Regions from separate parts of the Homo sapiens genome. Here all the other regions are linked to region 5. The links are contacts of gene promoters, found by promoter capture Hi-C in blood cells and fetal thymus (Javierre and others, 2016). All regions are on one chromosome and are shown on one strand. Each heading gives the region's core, a stretch centred on a gene start or on the middle of the fragment in contact. The rest is flanking DNA. Distances are from core to core; before and after follow the strand shown. Region 1 overlaps BFSP2 (beaded filament structural protein 2). Region 2 overlaps BFSP2 (beaded filament structural protein 2). Region 3 overlaps TMEM108 (transmembrane protein 108). Region 4 has its middle 1.6 kb from the start of BFSP2-AS1. Region 5 holds the start of ACAD11 (acyl-CoA dehydrogenase family member 11).

Region 1 (2,700 bases), core at 2-2,501, 810 kb before region 5:
TTGAGAAGTTTTCACATTCTGCAGCCACCATGGTCTGGGATTGGGAGCTTGTCACCTCTCACCTGTGGTACCCTCAGTGGCCTCTTAGCTCATCTCCCCACCTCTAGTTCCTCCTCTTCCTGAGTTCCACACACAAATAGCCACAGTACTCTGTCCAAAGCCCAAACCTGGGCCTGTATCTCCTCTGCTTAAACTCCATTGATGGCTCCCCAGGGCCCCTGATATGGCACACACAGCTGGCCCAGTATGTTTCCATCTTTATCCCCACCCTACAGCAGCATCAACACTTCCAGTCTTGGAGTTTATTTGGTCTGTGTTCTTTCCTCCACCTGCACCATGCTCCTCCATTCCTTCCAGCATCCTCACCTCACTCACTCCTACTCATCCCCAAGTCCAAGCTTAGAGGTAACCTGCCCCAGGAAGCCTTCCTTGAAACTCCTCTGCCGCTACCATCACCAAGCTGGGTTAGGAGACCCTCTGTATTTCCATGGCTCCCCAAGCTCATGCATGCTCTTGAACTTATCACAGTGGGCTAAGCTTGCTTATGGGCACGTCTTTTCCACCAGATGGTGAGACTTGGAAGGAACCAAGTCTCTGTAGTCCCAGCACACAAGTCAGGGCCTGGCACAGAATAGGTTCTTGGTATGTGTAGATTGCCCTGGATGATAGCACTTGTATTATGGTTACACTTATTGCACTATCTATGTCTCCCCATTAGACTGGAAACTTCTTTCTTCTCATCTTCCCATGCACCATGTCCTGAAAACTACAGAGCTAATCAATAAACCCCTTTAAAAAACTGTATCTGTGTTCAACATTTTCCAATAGTTTTAACTATGGTTCACCTATACTTTAGCATCTGGCTTTTTAATATAACACACAAAAAACAAATATCTTTCTAAATTGGATTGAATTAAATTTTGATGCAACAAGTTTCTGTACCCTGTCCTCCAGGAGGAGACTTTTTACACCCTTATGACCACTATGGATGAAACAGAAAATTCTGTCACGACACCATCTTGAATCATGACTGCTGTTAGCATGGATCACCATATTACCTTATTTAAATCTTCTTAATTCCATAGGATATGAGAATGTTGAGTCAGATTCTCATCTGTCTGAGGCATATTTATAAGAGGCAAAACGTGATCACTAGAAAATAAATCTAGATCAGTATCTGGTCTAGGGTTATTATTTAACTAATAGAATCTGGAAACCTTTCTATAGCAGTGAGGATGCAGAAATGGCCACCTTGACTTTGAGCATCATTTGTTCCAACCTCCCTGGGTTTTCTCTCTTTGTTTATGCATGAAAGTACTTAACTTGTGACTAGTTGTTGTTGACATTGGATTTGTAACATCTGTGATTTGGGAACACGCTTCACAGAATCACGGTTGGATCATCTGTCTATAGTTTTTGCTCCATCTTCTAGGTGAGTTCTTCATGTGGCCTGAGGTTTTTCCATGGTGACTTAGGACCCACTGCCAACAGGGCATTCATTGGAACCCCAGCCAAAGGTTATATGTGTCTTCCATCTCACCCTTAAAGTCCGAATCCAGCTTCCCCACCTAAGTCCCTGACATTATGGCAGAAAGAGAGGATGCCTGGTTCTCCCAGAGATGCTTGAGCTGGAGTGACTATGATCAGGCTACTGTTGCAGGCAAGTACACTGGCTCAGTCAGCCACGCAGACAGCACCAGCAAACAAGCTGAGATCACAGAAGCACACTTATTCTGCAGGTCTCTGGAGATTTGAAGGGACTTTCTGGGATTGCAAAATCCTCCAGAAAGTAAAATAGTGACCTTCTGTGACTTCTGGCCTTGAATTCCATTCCTGATTTGAGTTGACTGGACACAGAGTTCAGCAGGTCTCAAGCACCATTATTTGTGCCTAGCTTCCAATGCAAATAGTGCCTTATTGGCAAAGGGGGCCGAAAGTCTCGCCAGCTTGGCTGTCTGAAGCTTATATAAGCTGCGGGGGCCTTGTGTGTGCACAGATCGCTCTGACAGAATAACAGGAATGGCTGGATGAACTTCCTGTATCTGAAAACTGTATGAGAGTTTGTTACCTATTTTGTCCCAATCTGTGCTCCTCACCTTGGCTGCAAGGCCCCGTGACCAGAACGATAATCTACTAGAACCAGCAGGGAACAGAGGCAGCCTGTTCTGGGCTATGGGCATAGACAGAATGGCACTACTCTGAAGTTTTCTGGTTGAGAGTGTAAATTATTTTTCCATTTTTTTCCCCAATGGTTAGGACCCTGGGTTTAAGTGAGGTGACCAGGTGGCTGGTGATGCCAACTTGGAGTTACTGTACTAGTAGCTATTATAGCAATTTTATATGATAATTAATAATAGATGGCATTTATTGACTGCTCACTAACTGCCAGGCACTGTGCTAAGGGCTTGACATACATTATCAAATTAATCATCTCAATGACGTTATGAGGTAAATTCTATTACGATCCTAAAGTGGCTCACACTTGCATTGGCAGCTACAACAATTATCTCCACTCCACAATCGCTTTCTCAATGTGACCTTGCCATTGTCTCATCAAGAAGTTGAATTTATTTCTCTCCCTGTTGAATCTAGGATAGTCTTGTGACTGCTTTGACCACTAGAATGTGGTATAAGTGATGTCCAGAGACTTTCGAGCCCAGGTGTTAAGAGGCCTGGTAGCTTCTGTGCTCACTCAGGTGC
Region 2 (2,700 bases), core at 100-2,599, 790 kb before region 5:
TTAGTTTTTAACAAAAAAAGTTTAAAAGGTTAAAAAAACCCCCTCTTAAAAATAGAAAACAAGCTTATAGAATAAGGATAAAAGAAAGAATATTTTTGTATAGCTGTATGACGTGTTTGCATTTTAAGCCAAGTGTTATTATAATAGAGTCAAAAATTTGGAGTTGGGGACTCTGTGCCCCTTCTCACATACGTTGCCTTAAGCATCTCCTCCATTTGGCTGCTCCTGAATTGTATCCTTTATAATAAGCTGGCAAAAATATGTAAAGTGTTTCCTTGAGTTCTGGGCACTGTTCTAGCAAACTATCTACTTATCCCTCTGCAGAGGAGGTTGTGGGAACCCCTAATTTATAGCCAGTTCATCCGAAGTATGGGAGGGCCAGACTTGTCATCTGAAGTGAGGGCTGTCTTATGGGACTGAGCCCTTAACCTGTGGGATCTGATACTACTTCAGGCAGGTAGTGTCAGGATTGAATTGAATTATAGGACACTCAGTTGGTGTTTGGAGATCTGCTTGGTGTGGAACAAACCTACATATTTGGTGTCAGAAGCATTTTGTAAGAGCATAGGGGACAAAAAGGATTTTTTAAAAAAGAGATGGGGTCTCACCATGTTGCCCAGGCTGGAGTAGAGTGGCTATCCATAGGCATGATCATAGTGTACTTCTCCTTTGAACTCTTGGCCTCAAGCAATCCTCCTGCCTCAGCCTCCTGAATAGCTAGGACTACAGGCACATGCCACAGTGCCCAACTTAAAAAAAAAGTTGTTTTGTTTTACTTGACTAACTAGGAGGTCTAGAGTGTGGTGTGGCATGTTGTCTGAGGTTCCTGAAGCATCCCTGAGTACCCTGCATTAGGTAACCACAACAAATAGACAAGGAAGAACTAGACTTTAAGACCCTCCAGAAATTCTCTGGACCAATCTGATCCTGTCATCACTGAATCATACAACTTCAGAAGCTTCAAAAACTGGACCATGAGGTTCCTGACATTCGTAACACCATAGCTGGAAAGAATATGAATACTGCACTGACCTTAGCCAGAACCTCTTAATAAATTTTTTTATGTCTCTATTTTATTAAGCTTTTAATGACTGAAAAAATAAACAGAATTGGCAGATAAGTTCTAGCAGATGCTGATGGTACCACCTTTATCCCTTAGGCTTTCGCAGTTTAGTGCTCTCCTGTTCCCCCTGCCAGATTCTGCATCTTTTTGCCTGAGAGTTTCTCTGAAGCCTTTGGAAGGCCACTCTGATAGCAGATGGCAGAAAACTGTTGGGAGATGGTATTAACATCTCAGCTCCCTTGCCTTTCCCCTCTCCTGTAGTCTATACCGTTTCTCACAATTCTTCTTGGTTTACACGTCAGTCTCCCACAGTGGTAACTGGTTTGATTAGGCATTCTTTGTTGGTTCCCTTCTTTGCTTCTCCTCTACTGGTATTTTGTTGGTTTTTAACTCCCCAACTTCCAGGTAAACTACCTTAACTCCAATATTTGTTTCAGGATCTGCTTCTGAAGGAACCTAAACTAAGATATAAATTAATCATGTTAATTAATTTTCAGCCTCTGTGGTCCGAAAGGTAATTAAATGCATGCTTGCATTTTCTTTACAAAAGCTTTTGAAAGCTGTGTGTGCTAAGCCATTTCACATTTATGCTATGCCGCCAAGAAACCGACAAGAGATGCTCAGGATGGGCAAATGTCAGCCCCTGAGGGCACAACTGCAACTGACAAAACTATTTATTGGAGGAATTCTGGCTGTCAGTTCAGATCTCTGTTGATGATCAGAGGAATTCACTCATTCTGCAAATATTTTCTGAGCTCTGCCTTTCTGCAAGAGGCCCAGGCAGCATTGGCCAAGCTAAAACAAATACTGTCTGTTTTCTCTGAGATGTAGCTTTCAGATTACTCTATTAAAAAAACACTAATGAATCTGTTCAGAATTAATGTTTGAGTTACTGTTGGGCTAGTGATGATTCTCCAAGGGGTGAGGAGGAGATAATAATGACCTTTTTTTTTTCTTTTTCATACTATGAAGGATTTATTTCTGATAATTATAATAGTCTGTCCTTTCCCAAAGAAACAGTTACCACAGTGTGGTGCACACCGCAGGAGGGCTGGGACAGAAGCAAAGTTTGCAAACTGCTGGGCCTCTGAGGTTTAGCTTTAGAAGCAGAGCCAGGGGAGAAACGATGCAGCCCAATGCAGAGAAAAGGTCTCTGGACCAAGAACAGGAGAGTTGAACTATGGAGCTCTCAACCAGCTGTGTGATCGTGGGAAGTCACCTGCACTCTCTGGGTCTCAGTTTCCTCACACCTAAAATTAGGGAATGGGATCAGATGGTCTCTAGGACCATTAATTATCTGTTATCTGTCATGAGTCTGTTAAAAAAGGCAATGGACCAAACTCAAATCTATGGCTTCACTTTACCTCTGTGTTGCTCCACTTCTCATCAGGTTGGGTGGGGCGAGGGGAAGTCATTTTTTGAATAACTAGGCTCTATTTGCCATAAAAAAGTGTTTGTAGTGACCTGGCTCAATGATTGGTGGTTAGAAAGAAAGGAAGCTATTGAAACGGGGTAGGGGTTGGAGAAATGGGTGAGTGAAAGGATGTTTTCTAGGCTGGAGAACATTTTGGGAATCCAGAATTGATGAAGACCCTGCTGGGAAGGTTCTTGTTGATACTTGGGGGATAGAGGGAGTA
Region 3 (2,714 bases), core at 109-2,608, 730 kb before region 5:
GGGGTGGGGTTGCACCTCCACAAGAACTCTTCTCAGCTCTCACTGCCTTACTCAGATGTCTGTTATCTTTCTCCTGGGCCATCTCAATTGCATCCTAGTTGAGCTACCTATTTTTAGTCTGTCTTTCTGTGTCATTCCATCTATTTACTCATCCATCAAGCCATTATTTTCTTTCCTTATCCATTCGCTGATCACATATAGGGTGCTTTCACCAGGCCATCAGCATAATCCTTCTAAAACTGGGTCACCCAAAGATCAAAACTTTCAGTGACTCTCTGCTGCCCCAAACTAGAGTCCCAATGCCATAATACCCCATTAAGGCTGTGTCTAATTGGGCCTTTATCCTTCTTTACTGTTTCACTCTGGCCTCTACGCCACCCTCCGTGTGAGGATGGAAAGAGTATGGATTCTGTGGTTAAAGTCCTGGGTTCAAAGCTCAGCTCACTCACTGACCAGCCAGGTGTCTTGGGCAAATATGCTGACAGTGTATTCTTCTTTCCCTTCAGATCCAGCACGTATCCTCACCTTTCCTCAGGCTACCTCCTCTGCTGGAATGCCTGTTGAAATCCATTAATCCTTCCTAGCATCTGCACTGGGAAGGCTTTCCTCCTTGGGTTTCCACAGCTCTTTGTCTATAACTCGTCTGTGTTTGTGTTTCCCCTAATTGGCTTTGTTTTTGGGTGATGTTGGGGTTTGTCCTCCAGCCACATCTCAGAACCTGAGCCCCTTAGGAGCAAGCTCTCATCTTCATAGTGCCCTGGGAGTGCTCGGCACAAAACAGGTCCTCACTGAGTATTTGTTCACTTGTTCCCAGAAACCAAAAGTCCCAGGAACAGTGCTTCCAAAATTTACTGTGCAGAAAGCACCTGGGGATTCTTGCTAAAACACAGATCCTGGCTCAGTAGGACCAGGGTAGGGCCTACAACCTCTTGGGTGTTATTGATACTGCTGGTCCATGGGCCATACGTTAAGGAGCAAGGCACTCAGAAATGAGCAGATGCCCCATGGCTCTCTTTGGACCTGGTTTCCCTGCAGTGGGGCCAGCACTTTCAAGCTCATTACCTCAGAGGTTTCAAGGGACTGGATCTCCCTGGGCAGCTCCACAGCATGCCTGTTGAAGTAGTCCATGGTGATGGTGTTGTTCCAGTAGCTCAGGTTGTTCTCCGGGTTGGCGGTCTTCTTCTTCCTCTTCATGCAGCACACCGTCAGCAGGACAGCTATGGAGAGAGTGCAAGTCAGAGAGGAGAGGGAGGCAGCAAGGATGGTGCCTGGGTTGCACCACCGAACTGATGAGGAGAGTTCCCAGCTGGAGTAAGTGTATGGTGGGAAAAGGGGCAGGGCATGGTGAACTGTACAAAGTGAGCCTTAATTCCACAGAAGACCTTTACAGCAGAAGTTCACAGAGCAAAATCACGGGGCAGAAGTCTTGAATGCTGATAAAATAGCTTTTCTGGTACTATCATCATCATCATCATCATCAAAAAATCCTGTGTTAATAGTTATATAGGACTTACGTCCCAGGCATGGTTCCAAGGACATAGAAATATTCATTTAATCCTCTATTTAGCCCCATAAAGTCAGTACTGTTAGGATCCCCATTTTACAGATAGGAAAACTGAAGCTCAGAGAGGTAAAGTGATAGGCCCAAAAGCAAACCCAGACATCTGGACTCCAAAGTCTATGGTTTTTTTTTTTCTTTTTTTTTTTTTTTTTGATGGAGTCTAGCTCCGTTGCCCAGGCTGGAGTGCAGTGGCGCAATCTTGGCTCACTGCAACCTCTGCCTCCTGGGATCAAGCGATTCTCCTGCCTCAGCCTCCCAAGAAGCTGGGATATTACAGGTGCCTGCCACCATGTCTGGCTAATTTTTGTATTTTTAGTAGAGACAGGGTTTTGCCATGTTGGTTAGGCTGGTCTCGAACTCCTGACCTCAGGTAATCCGCCTGCCTCAGCCTCCTAAAGTGCTGGGATTGATTACAGGTGTGAGCCACTGCACCTGGCCAGTCTATGCTCTTACCAGCTGATTCCTGCCTTAGATTGATGCAAAAGCCCACCTGCACAGATGGCCTGAGGTGGGCTCCACACAGCTTGACTGAGCACAGTGTGACATGTGACCCTGTCTGTTCATCCCTGAGACTCCCAGGGCCCAGGAGGAAGAATTATGTCTCGATATTGTTGATTAACCATGTGTGAATTGAGTGGCTTGTGAGCAGGGAAGGCTTCTGAGGTCAGAGAGGTGGGGTGGCCTGTCCAGATTCACACTGCAGAAGGGTAACACAAGGACAAGGGTGACAGAGGCCTCTTGGGGAGAAGCCATGAAGTGAGGACTGAGTATATCCTGCCCCAGGTTCATCATCACCAGAGCCTCTGGGGATGAGGAGAGCTGAAGCCAAGAGCCACATCTGACATCCTGGTGGTGCCAACCATCTCTGTGCTGGGGAGTCGGGGTCCCAGGCTGGGCTGTCCAGAGAGGCCAGCACCGGGGGTTGGCAGAGGGCCAGCTCTGTTCGCAGCAGCCTGAGGGTCTGGCCAGCATCAGGGGTGGGTTCATGCCAGGGTGTGGGGCAGTTGCACAAGCTGGCACCTGTATAGGCTGAGACCTCACAGCCCAGAGCCCAGGGCCCTGTAGGCTGCCTGGGGAATTCTGTAGCTTTCTTTCCAGCTGCCAGCCTTGCTGGCCTCTCAACCTGGAAAGGTCTCTGTACAAGGTTAGGAGA
Region 4 (2,825 bases), core at 214-2,713, 830 kb before region 5:
ATGATCCGTCTAATACTGTCAGTGGGGTGTTGAAGTCTCCCACTATTATTGTGTGGTTATCTGAATTTCTTCTTAGGTCTCCAAGAACTTGTTTTATGAATCTGGGTGCTCCTGTGTTGGGTGGATATGTATTTACGATAGTTAGGTTTTCTTGTTGAATTGAAACCTTTACCATTATAGAATATTAATTATATAAGGGTAACAAATTTTCTTAGTATTTACTTATCTGAAAAGGATCTTGTTTTTCCTTCACTTATGAGGCTCAGTTGGCTGAATATGAAATTCTTGGTTGGAATTTCTTTTTTATTTTATTTATTTATTTTCTTTGAGATGGGGTCTCACTCTGTCATTCAGGCTGGAGTGCGATGGCGCCATCTTGGCTCACAGCAACCTCCATCTCGGGTTCAAGTGATTCTCCTGACTCAGCCTCCCAAGTAGCTGGGATTACAGGTGCCCACCACCATGCCTGGCTAATTTTTGTATTTTTAGTAGAGATGGAGTTTTACTGTGTCGGTCAGGTGGTCTCAAACTCCTGACCTCAGGTGATCCACCTGCCTCGGCCTCCCAAAGTGCTGGGATTACAGGTGTGAGTCACTGCACCTGGCCGGAATTTCTTTAAAAAAAAAAATGCTGAATATAGGCCCCCCCCATCTTTTCTGGTTGTATAGTTTCTACTGAAAGGCCTGCTGTTAGCCTAATGGTGTTTCCTTTGTAGGTGACCTGCTGTTTCTCTCTAGCTGCCTTTAAAACTTTTTCTTTATTTCGACCTTACAGAATCTGATGACTATGTGTCTTGGGGATAGTGATCTTTTATAGCGTCTGGCAGGGGTTCTCTGCATTTCCTGCCTTTGAATGTTGGCCTCTAGCAAGGTTGGGGAAATATTCACCGGCAATATCCTCAAATATGTTTTCCAAGTAGCTTGCTTTCTCTCCTTCTCTTTCAGGGATGCCAGTGAACTGTAGATCTGGTCTCTTTACATAACCTGTATTTCTCGGAGGTTTTATTCATACTTTTAAATTCTTTTTTTCTTTATTTTTGTCTGACTGAGTTATTTTGGAGAACGGTCTTCAAGCTCTGAGAGTGTTTCCTCAGTTTGGTCTATTCTACTATTAATACTTGAGATTGTATTACTAAATTCTTGAAGTGAGTTTTTTAGGTCTATCGGATCAGTTTATTTTTTTCTTAAAATAGCCATTTCATCCTTCATCTCCTGTAGCATCTTATTGATTCCTTGGATGGGGTTGCAACTTTCTCCTGAATCTCAATGATCTTCATTCCTATCCATTTTCTGAATTCTATGTCTGTCATTTCAGCCATTTCAGGCTGGCTAGGGACGATTGCTAGAGAATTAGTGTGGTGGTTTGGAGGTAAGAAGACACTCTGGTTTTTGAGTTGCCAGAGTTCTCACACTAGTTCTTTCTCATCTGTGTGGGCTGATGTTCCTTCAATTTTTGAAGTTGATGTGCTTTGGAGAGGTTTTCTGCTTTTATCTTCTTTGATGATCTTGGTTTGATTGTGGTATATGGTGGGTTTGGTTGACTTGCTTCATTTCTGGAAGATTTTAGGGGGCCCAGACTCAGCTCAGCACTCCTGGGCTGCGTGCTCTAACTCTGGGAGGGCTGGTGCTGGGCGCCTGGCTGTGCTATCTGAACCCTCAAGGTTAGGAATCTATTCTGCTGGAGGGGCTGAGTTGTTCCCAGTCTGCTGGCCACAGCACTGTGATGGAAGATGCTAGCCAAAGCACTTGGTCAGGGTGGTGTCAGTGAGATCTGTGCTTACTGATGTATGGCAGCAGCTGCAGCAGCATGGCGGGGTGCACACGTGTTAGCTGGGGAGGGGTTCCAGCAGAAATGGGGAGGCGGTGTTCCTGCATGTGCTCATGCCAGTGGTGGTGGTGGTGCATTGGTAGGGGGGAAAATGGGGGCTGGGGCACTGGCAGCCGTGGGGTTGCTGGTGTTGCACTTGTACTGGCGGTGGTGGCAGCTGGGGTGGGGTGCTGGTGGAGGTGAGGTTGCCAGCATTCATGAGCATGTTATAAAATTTTTAAATTTTTGTCTCAATTTTTTTTAAGTCACAAACATTTTTATTGGAAAGCAATGAGCTGCAGCAAAGTGACACTCAGTGCATGCAGCCAAATGGGTGAGGTGGGGGTACAGGTGGGTGCCAAGAGCTGACCCAAGACTAGAGCTCATGACCTCTGGGGCCTCTGGCTATAAGCCCTTTGGGCTGGAGTGTGCAGGCCCAGCAGAAATACAAAAATAAACTCTGTGGTCTAGCTGTCCCTGCCTGTGGTAGTTCGTTTGGGCAAGGTGGTTACTCTTTGCAGCAGGTCCTGTGCTGTCTAGTCCAGCCACAGCGTGGGCAGCAGAAGCCTATGGGGTTGAGTGGACACCTACAGGCTGGAGCCAAAGGGCCAGGCAGGTGTGGCCTTGGGCAGTGCTGAGACTCTGACAGCACCAGGGTCTGGCCTGCAGCTGGGGAGGCCTCAGGGCCTCTCAGGTGGGCAGGTCCAGGCATTGGTTGAAGCTGGATGAAGCTGGGGCCTGTGCTACTCCTCATCACATACAAATCACTGGGAACCTGTCCTCCTTGGTCTGGTCTCTTCGGCCCCACCCTCACTGCCTCCACCTCTGCTTCCTTTCTCTTCCTCCTCTTCCCCCAGTTCCAGGTCCATCTCGTTGCCTGCCTCTGAGGGTGTGCAGGTGGAGCTGCTAATGGAGCGGTGGCTGAAGAAAACAATTTGCTTGAGCCCTTTGTTGTAGAAGAAGTAGTTGAAGGACCAGAGGGTATCTTCTTCTCTGAAGGCATCTGGGTCCATGTCTGG
Region 5 (2,769 bases), core at 162-2,661:
AAGCTTTGTTAGGAAAGAAGAAAAGAGAGGCCTGGGCAGTCTTGGTAATGTCGAATGGTTTGAGATGTTAAGGAGCACCCGAATATCTCAGAATAGAGCTAACCCCGCTCTCCCCCGCCCCGACCCCATTTAAGATGCATTGATAAGCCTTTAATGAAACTCAAAGTTTACCTTAGCAGGTTTAATATTTGATCTCATCTTCTGAAAGTTCTTACTATCAGTCTTATACACAGCGAGGCGGACTAATTAAGAGGCAAGGGTGATAGGAAACTGGACACACGTCCTCAGCAGGCACAGGAGCAGCACCATATGGCTGACTCACTGGAGGTTTTTAAAAAAGAGAAAGAATATCTTCCGATCAGTACTAAGATGTGGCCTTGCCCATTTGGGAACAGGATTCGCAGACCAAGAAAAGGGTGGCGGGCGTCCCCATGAGCGGGACGTGGGAAGCGCCTCACTTCTGACCTCACGGAGCCTGACCTCGTCCCCCGCGCCTGCCTCCGACCGGCGACGCAGGTTACCTGTAGGGATTCGAATCCACCACCTCTGAGCTCATCTTCTCGATGCGGACCCGGCCGCCCCCTCCGTCGCCGCTCCTCGGGACCTGCAGACTCCTCTCCTGGGCAAGTTCCCGCTCCAGCTCCTGGACCCGCTGCTGCAGGCGCTCCACAGACTCCGCCATGGCTGGGACTCCGGCCGCCAACGCTCCCAGCCCGGGCCTTCGCCGCCGCCTTCGCCCCACGTTGCTCGGCTGGGCCCGCGAGGGGTACGTGGGGAGGCACCTCGCCGCTGCCTTCCTAGCCCAGAGCCCTGGGGACGTGCACCCAGCGCCTCACAGACAGACACGTCTCCGAGACTCCCACAGGCCTTCCTCGGAGCCGCTTCCGGTGCGTCGCAGACATCGCTCCCCCTCATCAAAAACCTGGCTCTTTCGGCTTCCTTCCTCGCTGGGCCGGCTAAACCCGGCCGCAGCAGCACCGGGGTGATAAGTGTCCAGGGCAGGAGGCCAGCGATGTTGCCTTGCTAACCGGGTATCTAAGAGAAACAGGGTCTTTTTATTCTTAGGCTCGACAGTCTGACGGCCCTTTTTCTGAACGGGACCCTGCAGGTCTTCCGCCTGCTGTTGCATTAAATTTGGGGGTGGAAGAGGCTTCTGCGTTGTTCCTTACCCGCAACGATGACCATGGCTTTGCCTTCTTTAAAATTGAGGCCTCCAACTCTGACGCTGACTGGAGAATTGAAACCCGAACACACATTGGGCTCTTTTGGCACTTGACTAGAGCTAAAACCTCGGGATTCAGCGGGCAAGCGTTGCTCAGCAACGGCGCGTAGGCTGTGTGCGGTTGGCTGGAGCCAGACCCCACCCCGGCCTCGGCCCATGCTCTAGAGGGGACGTTGCCCCAATCCTGAAGGACTTCGGCACTCGAGACCTGTGGATGCCGCGTTGCTGTGGCCTGCGGGGGTGATCATGAAGCCAGGTGCTACTGGCGAGTCCGATTTGGCCGAAGTGCTGCCCCAGCACAAGTTCGACAGCAAGTCCCTGGAGGCCTACCTAAACCAGCACTTGTCTGGCTTTGGGGCCGAACGTGAGGCTACGCTGACCATTGCCCAGTACAGGTATGGATGTCAGCCTTTGCCTCCAGCGGAAAAAAATTTGTACATTGAGTTTTCCTTCCTTTGGCCCTGGGTGGTTTCCTAAGTTTCTCCCACCCTGATTGCTTTTCCTGCAGTCAGTGGACGCACCCTACAGGCATGAGCTGCTATTGCCGGCCCTCCGAATTCGATGCTGGGGGCTTCCCAATTGGAGGGCGGTAATGGAAGCGCAATAACGTTCACCATTCTACTATCCAAAGGAATCTTTGTTAAAGGATGGATTTATGTCCCTTGAGGATTCACCAAGGCAATTAAGGCTACAAATTCTGAGAAATAGATGCCTTCTTTTGTGATACAGCCATTAGATCTTTTTCTGAGAAGCTGGTGTAATTCCGTTTGATTGGCCGTATTCCGGGAGGCTGAGTTAATGACACCAGATGGAGGATCCGAATTCGAGTACTAGCTTTTCCACTTAGGAGGTCACAGCACCACTTTGGGCCTCAGGTTTTTTGAAGTGAGGTAATGGAACTGAGTGAGAGGATCCTGAGAGTAGCGTTCCCCACCGGGAATCTGGCTTTAGTCTGATGTTTTACAATAGATAATACATTCTTAAAACTTTATTCTAAAAATAACATTGTTACTAATACAGGGCTACAGAAAGAGTCCTATCATTCAGAAAACTGGATCTGTCACTTGCTGTCTGGGAGTTTAAATATGTTACATAAACACTCTGAGAACTAGTTTCCTAAGTTGTAATACCTATTTTGATTAGTCTTATTAATGAAATGAAATACCGTAATATAGGTGAAAGGGCGTAAAAATTGCAACAACATAGTGTGCTAGTGGTATTTTATCACTAGCATTTATATTCTTTGACTACTGATTTTGGTGAAAATGAAAATAATAATAAATGAGATGGATCAGGGAACATTTTAGGGTGTAGAATTTAAAGGTCCCATGTCCCAATAGATATTGGAAGATGAAGGGAAAGGTGGAATAAAGAATAGCTGAGATTTCTAGGCTAGAAGCCTTGTGTTGTAACAAACTGAAACAGATCAAAGTTCAAATTTCAACTATTTCAATTGCTGTGGAATTTGGACAAGTTACCCTTTGAACATCTAGTCCTGCTTTGGCAAAAAGGAGATAGTAACGTTCATATTGTAGGAGTGTTGAAGA

The links. The method cuts DNA at HindIII sites, captures the fragments that hold promoters and counts their contacts. A CHiCAGO score of 5 or more calls a contact.
Region 1: a contact is called between a fragment that was not itself captured here and the fragment with the promoter of ACAD11 in region 5, in 2 of 17 cell types (non-activated CD4 T cells and M1 macrophages). The highest score is 6.7, in non-activated CD4 T cells.
Region 2: a contact is called between a fragment that was not itself captured here and the fragment with the promoter of ACAD11 in region 5, in 2 of 17 cell types (fetal thymus and total B cells). The highest score is 6.8, in fetal thymus.
Region 3: a fragment that was not itself captured here is called in contact with the fragment with the promoter of ACAD11 in region 5 in 1 of 17 cell types (megakaryocytes); the score reaches 5.3 in megakaryocytes.
Region 4: a contact is called between a fragment that was not itself captured here and the fragment with the promoter of ACAD11 in region 5, in 6 of 17 cell types (naive CD8 T cells, total CD4 T cells, naive CD4 T cells and 3 more). The highest score is 8.0, in naive CD8 T cells.

The regions. Positions count from the first base shown.
Region 1 is chr3:133,468,633-133,471,332 of GRCh38, reverse strand. The region is part of intron 5 of BFSP2 (beaded filament structural protein 2); the gene reads right to left. All of the region lies in intron 1 of BFSP2-AS1 (BFSP2 antisense RNA 1), which reads left to right. Among named protein-coding and RNA genes, the nearest start is that of BFSP2-AS1, 21 kb to the left of the region's middle. RefSeq lists an enhancer at 1,681-1,840. The HindIII fragment of the contact is 1,424 bases long and covers 540-1,963 here.
Region 2 is chr3:133,452,224-133,454,923 of GRCh38, reverse strand. The region is part of intron 4 of BFSP2 (beaded filament structural protein 2); the gene reads right to left. All of the region lies in intron 2 of BFSP2-AS1 (BFSP2 antisense RNA 1), which reads left to right. Among named protein-coding and RNA genes, the nearest start is that of BFSP2-AS1, 38 kb to the left of the region's middle. The HindIII fragment of the contact is 532 bases long and covers 1,084-1,615 here.
Region 3 is chr3:133,388,683-133,391,396 of GRCh38, reverse strand. It overlaps TMEM108 (transmembrane protein 108), which reads right to left. Exons shown (of 6, transcript NM_023943.4): 5 at 1,063-1,217. Among named protein-coding and RNA genes, the nearest start is that of BFSP2, 10 kb to the left of the region's middle. The HindIII fragment of the contact is 6,155 bases long and covers 1-2,714 here.
Region 4 is chr3:133,491,298-133,494,122 of GRCh38, reverse strand. It overlaps the pseudogene MAF1P1. Among named protein-coding and RNA genes, the nearest start is that of BFSP2-AS1, 1.6 kb to the right of the region's middle. The HindIII fragment of the contact is 5,013 bases long and covers 1-2,825 here.
Region 5 is chr3:132,658,451-132,661,219 of GRCh38, reverse strand. ACAD11 (acyl-CoA dehydrogenase family member 11) reads left to right here and starts at 1,411. Exons shown (of 20, transcript NM_032169.5): 1 at 1,411-1,617. The coding sequence starts at 1,469. UBA5 (ubiquitin like modifier activating enzyme 5) reads right to left here and starts at 891. Exons shown (of 12, transcript NM_024818.6): 1 at 522-891. The coding sequence starts at 682. The region is part of intron 26 of NPHP3-ACAD11 (NPHP3-ACAD11 readthrough (NMD candidate)); the gene reads left to right. RefSeq lists enhancers at 296-575, 946-1,035, 571-1,109. The HindIII fragment of the contact is 2,892 bases long and covers 6-2,769 here.